Regions from separate parts of the Homo sapiens genome. Here region 2 is linked to region 1. The links are contacts of gene promoters, found by promoter capture Hi-C in blood cells and fetal thymus (Javierre and others, 2016). All regions are on one chromosome and are shown on one strand. The core of a region is centred on a gene start or on the middle of the fragment in contact, and the rest is flanking DNA. Distances in the headings are between cores, read along the strand shown. Region 1 holds the start of EGF (epidermal growth factor). Region 2 has its middle 22 kb from the start of SEC24B.

Region 1 (3,776 bases), core at 421-2,920:
GAATTAGCTGCGATTGATTTTCATCATCAGTCATCAGCCATAGCATCTGCTATACCTCTGTTGACTCCGTCATCTCCTAGGGAGCTTGTACTCAACATTAATGACAACATTAGCCCAGGTGACATGTAATTAAGAAAGCAAACCTTTTTCCAACCAAAAATAATATGAGAGATTCCAAATCCAAACAGAACAGAGCTGTGGATCATTTCATGTTTGTCTTCATATCATTCTCTCCACTCCACTCCACTGACACAGCGTGATGCTTGATTGTCCTCTAAGCCCCTTCCATTGCTGTCATCTGGGATGCTGGCAATGTATTGTGCTGAAAGGGAAGCTTATTAATAAAGTTAGTAACTCGAAGAGTCAGTGCAGGTTATTTGTAGGATGCTCATTATGAGTCTTGAGTCTGACTCAGTCCAGAAAGCAATGGAATATTCCGCATAACCACCTAAAGGACTTCTCTTTCCCCCTTCCCCAGGGTCTGTTTCTCCTGTAAGGGTTCAGAGCTGCCTGGCAGAGGCTGGCTGAAATAGGAGAAATCCTGACTTAAGCTGTTTCAGGAAAGTGATCCAGTCTTTGGAGAATAATCAGGACATAATTAAGTATGAGTAAAAGGCTTAGAGTTAGTCTGTTCTCCTCTGTAATGGGGTGTTCACTAGTGTGACAGTTGTTTTTGTGACTATTGCTTTTACGTACATTTTTGACCAGCACTTGGAACACTACCTCAGGGTAACTTAAATGAAAGTCCATTTTCCAGGATGGAGTAAACTGACAGAAATTTCCATCGTGCATCAAATCTGCTATAAGTTGTTTGCCTTCTGGGTATTTTTGGGCCCTAGTTGTACTCCTGAAGAAATAACCACTGTTGCTCCAAGTAGAAAGTGGTTGAGGAGACAGCTAACAGATACGTCCAGTTCTTATTTTCTATCACAGAGATGTGAAAAAAAAAAAGCCTAAATTATCTTAGAAGGAAAAGCATTCCTCTGTGCTGGATTTCCAGTGCTTCCCAGCTTTGCACTGTTAGCTTATTTTTTCCAATGTCCCTATAATAACAATCCACTCCTTTCTCTGCACTCCTGGCCCCTCGTGATGTTTTATCATGCTCATGCTGAAAGAAAAGGTGTCTGTCCATACTGTATCTCTTCATTTGGCCTCAGGGATTTCCCTTTGATTTGGAAAGAATAATCTTTCAAATTCCGCTATAAACTATACAGGAGAAAGAGAAAAATAAGATAAAGCTCCTGGAATGTGCACTGGTATTGACATTTCGTTCAAATAATGGGCTGAAGGTGAACTATCTTTACTATTGCTCATGTGAATGATCAATTATTATCAATCCAAACTATCAACAGTGCTGCTTATTATTGATTTATACTGCATGGTTTAATTTTGTCTCCATCCTTCCAGACATTAAAACATAGCCAATATTTAGCAGTTCCCGCCATTCACCATGAGCACCTCCACAGCCCCCAACTCCTCTCTCCCAGTTCTGCCCAGGATATTTATGGTGAGTAGCGAGTTATCTCCTCTTTGGCAGTCATCCCTGCTTTCCTGTGTGGAGGAATTGCCCACATTCGCATTTGCAAACAGAGGCTCACTCAAGTGTCACTAAAGGAAAGGAGGTGGAGCCTGAAGAGCTTTAAAAAGCAAAGCTGAGTCATTCCACTTTTCAAAAAGAGAAACTGTTGGGAGAGGAATCGTATCTCCATATTTCTTCTTTCAGCCCCAATCCAAGGGTTGTAGCTGGAACTTTCCATCAGTTCTTCCTTTCTTTTTCCTCTCTAAGCCTTTGCCTTGCTCTGTCACAGTGAAGTCAGCCAGAGCAGGGCTGTTAAACTCTGTGAAATTTGTCATAAGGGTGTCAGGTATTTCTTACTGGCTTCCAAAGAAACATAGATAAAGAAATCTTTCCTGTGGCTTCCCTTGGCAGGCTGCATTCAGAAGGTCTCTCAGTTGAAGAAAGAGCTTGGAGGACAACAGCACAACAGGAGAGTAAAAGATGCCCCAGGGCTGAGGCCTCCGCTCAGGCAGCCGCATCTGGGGTCAATCATACTCACCTTGCCCGGGCCATGCTCCAGCAAAATCAAGCTGTTTTCTTTTGAAAGTTCAAACTCATCAAGATTATGCTGCTCACTCTTATCATTCTGTTGCCAGTAGTTTCAAAATTTAGTTTTGTTAGTCTCTCAGCACCGCAGCACTGGAGCTGTCCTGAAGGTACTCTCGCAGGAAATGGGAATTCTACTTGTGTGGGTAAGTACTCCAATGAAAAGGTGCTCCAGGTCTCCGGGAAACTGCCCCCACATCCCTGTTGGTTCAATCTGGTATACTTGGGCATTTAACAAAGTTTGTCTTTGGGTATGTATAGTTGCTTAATTTTTGTTTTCTGATGCATGTTTATTTTCTTACTGGCCATTAGAGCTAATCTGCTACCAACTATAAAACTTCATAACTCTCAAACTGTACTTCTGTGTATAAGTGAATGAATATGCCTCATTTTAAACTAGCAGAACATTTCATGGAAGCTTCAGCTTTTACTCTGACAAGAGGAGTAATTAACACCTGGCTAATTGCTTGGAAATTAGGGAAACAGATGGTTGATTTTTTGTTTGTCTGTTTGAAACTCTTAAGCCACAAAGAAAAAAATCCTTCCTTCTGATAACTTGTAAGAATTCAGAAGTTCTAAAAATTAGTGAAAAATGGAAAGGGAACTGTGAACAAAGGTAGTTGTGAAAATTAACCTAAATTTCAATTTCAACCTCCTTCACTTTCTCCCCACTCTTACTGTTTCTGAGGCTCTGACACAACTCCGGAGTTTTAGTAACAGGTGCATTGCAACTTTAAGAACTGCCAAATATGATAATGGGTAAATAAGCCACACTGTCCTCTCATATTAAATGAATTTTTTGCCAAGGGGAAATGGGAGCTTGACTGAATGCGAATTACAATCCTGCCAAAGGATATTGCCTGAAAAACATTCTCTCTCTAACTGTTAATTCATTTATTTAATCCTTGGGTGAGCCTCCAACCTGCTGCTTAGACACGGCAGCCGCCTTTGTTGATGAGAGGTTATAGCTGCCCCGACATTCCATTTTTATCAGCTTGCCCTTTTGAGATGGCGTCTGGCTTTTAAAAAGAGGTAGATTGAGGGGGAAAACACAGTACAGTTTCCAGAAGAGACACCTATGGAAGACAGTACACAATAGGCAATAGTTTGAATAAAGAGAGCAGAATGGAGCCAAACTGCCAAAGCTAGGCTGCTGTCCTGGCTCTCCCATTAAGGAAGTTCCCGATGAGGAAATCAGGTGCTTTTGCTCAGAATCTCTGGACTCTGTTCTCAGGTAGCACTCCTTGTAACAGGTGAGCAGAACTCTAGGGTATTTGAAATAAAGACTTAATCCTAGTGATCTCTATGTTCCCAGCACCTAGGACATTCCTGCTTCCACAGTGTGTACTCAGCAAATTCTTGTGTATGAATGAGGCGTCTTTCTCTGATCTGCTAATGACATAGTCCTAGAGAACAGCAACAAAAAGAGGGTGACAAATGACAAAAATGGCCCCATGAACCTCAGACTCAGCTGTTGGAGACAGAAGTAAAACTTCTGTATACAGTTATGTCAAATGGACTGGACTCTCTTTGGGGTGGGAGAATTTTCCGTGGAGTAGTTGGCAAATATCTAGAGTTGGGCACTGTCATTTGCATGGGATGTGAGGGGTGATGGTTGGGCCGATCTATCAGGCAGCCAGAAGCTAGGAAAGAAGAACCCAGGTTGCTGAAG
Region 2 (3,776 bases), core at 830-3,329, 500 kb before region 1:
AGCCTAGGCAACATAGTGAGACCCCATCTCCATAAAATTTTTTTAAAAATTAGCTGGGTGTGGTGATGTCAACTGTAGTCCTAGCTACTCAGGGAGCTAGGACAGAAGCATCGCTTTACCCCAGGAGGTCAAGGCTGCAGTGAGCTATGATGGTGCCACTGCACTCCAACCTGGGTGACAGAGCGAGACACTATTTCAATTTTTGTAAAATTAAAAAATTAAAATTAAAATTGAGTGTCTATTCAGCAGGGGAAAGAAGAGAAGGTTCAATCTCTGCCCTTGAGAAGCTAAGAGTTTAATAGGCAAATGGAATATATATGCCAAATAAATACAGGACATTTTAATAAAGCAACATGTTAATGCCATCAAATTGTATTCCTTTGGAGGACTTAAGGCATGTATTCTTTTTCTGAATAGCTGAATAATCTGAACAGGTGAGTTTACCCATTGTTTCATTCCCCATTTACATGTCCAACCTCTTTATTTCAACCTCCCTGAATAAACTTTTTAAAAGGCTACTCACTACCATCACTCCTTAAACAGTATTTGGGCCTTGCTGGGACAGATTGGTGGTGAGTCCATAACAAAGGGCAGGAAGTGACTCGGTAAATCCTTTTTTTTTTTTTCTGGGACGGAGTCTCACTCTGTTGCTCAGGCTGGAGTGCAGTGGCGCGATCTCAGCTCGCTGCAAACTCCGCATCCTGGGTTCAAGCAATTCTCCTCCCTCAGGCTCCCGAGTAGCTAGGATTACAGGCGGCACGCCCAGCTAATTTTTGTATTTTTAGTAGAGACGGGGTTTCACATGTTGGCCAGGCTGGTCTTGAACTCCTGACCTTATGATCCGCCCGCCTTGGCCTCCCAAAGTGCTGGGATTATAGGCGTGAGCCACCTCACCTGGCTGTGACTTGGTAAATTCTAGGGACTGACCAAAGCCAAGCATAGAATGGCTTTGTTATCCCAAAATTGTGATTACTTCAAGCCACGGTGGAGAGATGAAAATGTAGATGAGAGGAAAAGCAAATTCAAAAGCCAAACATGGCTATATTAAGCATTGAGGTGAAAGAGTAGGGTGAGGACCCAAACCACTGGCAACAACACTGGAAGCCAAGAGAGTGAGAGAACGGAATGCAGGGCAGTGGAGCTGGTGAGTCAGGCATCTGAGACAGAAGGTCCTTGTTCTGTAAATGTGCAGTGAAGTCTTGCCTGGCCTACGTGGAGAGAGGAGCCCCTTAAAGGTGACACCAAACTGGACAGCCACAGTCTACTGATCATTAATGTGTTCTGGATTGGGAGATGTTACAGGACAGTGGGACTAACAAATCTAAGTGCATGCATGCTGAAATGATGACAAATAGCAAAAGTGTCAATATAATCAAACAAAATAAATCAGGTATATTCTCGTAGGGGTGACTTTGCACTCGGATTTCAAAGCTCATATTCTAGGCCTTCTTTGCTATTGTTGACTCACCTGGTCAAATTGTCAACAGCATGCTATGGGCTCCTTTCTGCACCAATGTGCCTTTGAATCCCAAGTACCACTGCCCTCAATGTTTGAATCATCTTTGAGCCTACAGGTTAGGATTCTTGGTAGTAAAGGAAGAAGGCAGATTTTTTGAGGAGCTATTCTGGGAGCCTTCTTGTTATCCACTGGACACTGCTTATTTCACTTGTGGACTTACAATGTAGCAGCTGTGTTTCGATTTCTCCTGTAAGGCTTGCTGCAGAGGAATATCATCAATTAAAATGGACAAAAGGAGAGCACAAATTACTTTACCAGTTACCCCTAAGCTGACAGTCTGTAGATTACAACCAAATCTTAAAGTGTTTTCCCGGTCAATTGTACTATTCCATAGCTCTTAAGTGTCTATTTGAAGACCTAAAGCAGGTGATGTTTTCGGCCCAGATCCAGAGTTTAAAATTTGTGTAATATAATGTAAGTCTACCTACAGTTTTATGAGAATTTCTGTTAAGCTTTTGGGAGTTTGGTCTGTATGCTGTCATTCTTCATTTTCAAAGAATACATTTTTTAAATGATGGTGTTTCCTATATATACTTCCCATCATCGGCAACATCTAACCTGAGTTATTTATAAGCTGCTCTCAACTTTCAGAACTTTTCTGCCTCACATGTATGTTCCAGCATACCAAACTTGATTCTTTCCCCCCTCTCTCTCTCACTATGGATGGAGAAAGCTTTAAGAGGCCCTTGGTGTGTTTGTGTGGTAGGAGAGAGCTTGTGGGGAGAAGGATGGATTGGGGAGTGGAGACATGGAAACAGTTCTGGAAAAGTGGCTTTGCACAGAGCTGCTCCATCCACGTGATACTTTAGCAGTCCAAGCTGCAGAAAGGGAAGGCTGGCCACATGCCAGCTGCTCACTGGGAAAGAGTGATGGCTCCTGTAGACTGGCAGCAGGAGTTTGTTCTGCCTCTTCAAAATGCTGTCAGGAGACTTCTTTGCCAATGAATGAATCCTCAGGCCACTAAAGGGGGTAAGGGGATTCACACATACGCCTCCAGGTGAGAAGCATGGAAAAAAGGTTTCCTCTCCCCTGTACCTAGGAGATCTGGTCATAGTTCTGATTTTACTAACAGCTAGCTGTGTGGGCTAAGGTAAAATTATTTGACATCTATAAGTTCCAGTTATTTTGTTGTGAATAAAGAGGGGATCTGAGTAAAGAATGTCTCTGACTCTAAAATGCCATGGGCCTGTAATCTATCAGTGTGAGTGGTAACCTCAATAAAAGTGAAAGTCTGGTGTGGCAGCTCTTCTAGAGCTTCTTTTGTCTAGTCATGTCTATAATCAGGCCAAGTCCTGTAGTTTGTGGGATTGACACAAGATTCAAAATAACTGTGTGTCATCAGAAACAAAAGTTTGGAAAAGACATTTCCCCAAACTAAATTAAATATCACTGCTCAAAAATAATAAAATGCTATAGAAAGAAAATATCAACGCCACCACAAATCAACATTGGAGGAACAGCCCTAAAAAACATCTGGAAAATAGCATTAAGTTAACAAACCACTAGATAAAATGTTTGATTTCCCAGGCACTGATGTTACTAACTGCAAAAGCAGTTAAAAAGTCTTATGAGGAATAATATCTTGGCACTCATGAACAGCAAGAAACCCAGCTGTTTGCACTTGCTGTATAACAAGTGCCAATGCACATACTGTAATCCTCAGTCTGCTGAGCACTGCAATGGCAAACAGCACAATGTGACAGAAAGTTCCTGATTGGGCAAGAGTGATCAGGCTATTGGGACTCAGTAACAGGCAAATGCCTCCTTTTACTACAACAGCCCACTTCCAGGGCAACTTCCTTGTGAATTGTTGTTTCTTGCTATATATTCATTCATTTGCTTTTACTAGAAATTTATATCATGGTCTGGAAAGAACTTCTATTTCCAGGCAAGAGTTCCTTTAAACCATACCAGATGTCGGAAACATTATGAGACTGGCCTAAGAAGAGGAGAAGAGGGGATTTGAACATGAGCTATATAAGTGACAGACAGAAAAGGAAAGGGCCCATAGGTGAGTGGACATGAAGAGAGATAAGCAGATAAGCACACTAAAGCAAGATCATGGGAATCCGTGAAACTCTCCATCTCAAAGTGCTAGAAGCATACCCATCCTGCAACTGAGATTTTGAAAGAGACTAAGATAAAGCTAGAAGACAAAGGAGAAAGGAAGTGTTCAGACATCCTGACATGTTATTTCCAGTGCTACTTAGGCACTCATTGAAATCAGCAATTCTTTAGAATTGAGAAGGAAAAGTCT

What was found. The method cuts DNA at HindIII sites, captures the fragments that hold promoters and counts their contacts. A CHiCAGO score of 5 or more calls a contact.
Region 2: a fragment that was not itself captured here is called in contact with the fragment with the promoter of EGF in region 1 in 3 of 17 cell types (total CD8 T cells, naive B cells and erythroblasts); the score reaches 6.2 in total CD8 T cells.

Annotation. Positions count from the first base shown.
Region 1 is chr4:109,911,213-109,914,988 of GRCh38, forward strand. EGF (epidermal growth factor) reads left to right here and starts at 1,671. Exons shown (of 24, transcript NM_001963.6): 1 at 1,671-2,250. The coding sequence starts at 2,124. The HindIII fragment of the contact is 2,188 bases long and covers 333-2,520 here.
Region 2 is chr4:109,409,836-109,413,611 of GRCh38, forward strand. No RefSeq gene overlaps it. Among named protein-coding and RNA genes, the nearest start is that of SEC24B, 22 kb to the right of the region's middle. The HindIII fragment of the contact is 221 bases long and covers 1,970-2,190 here.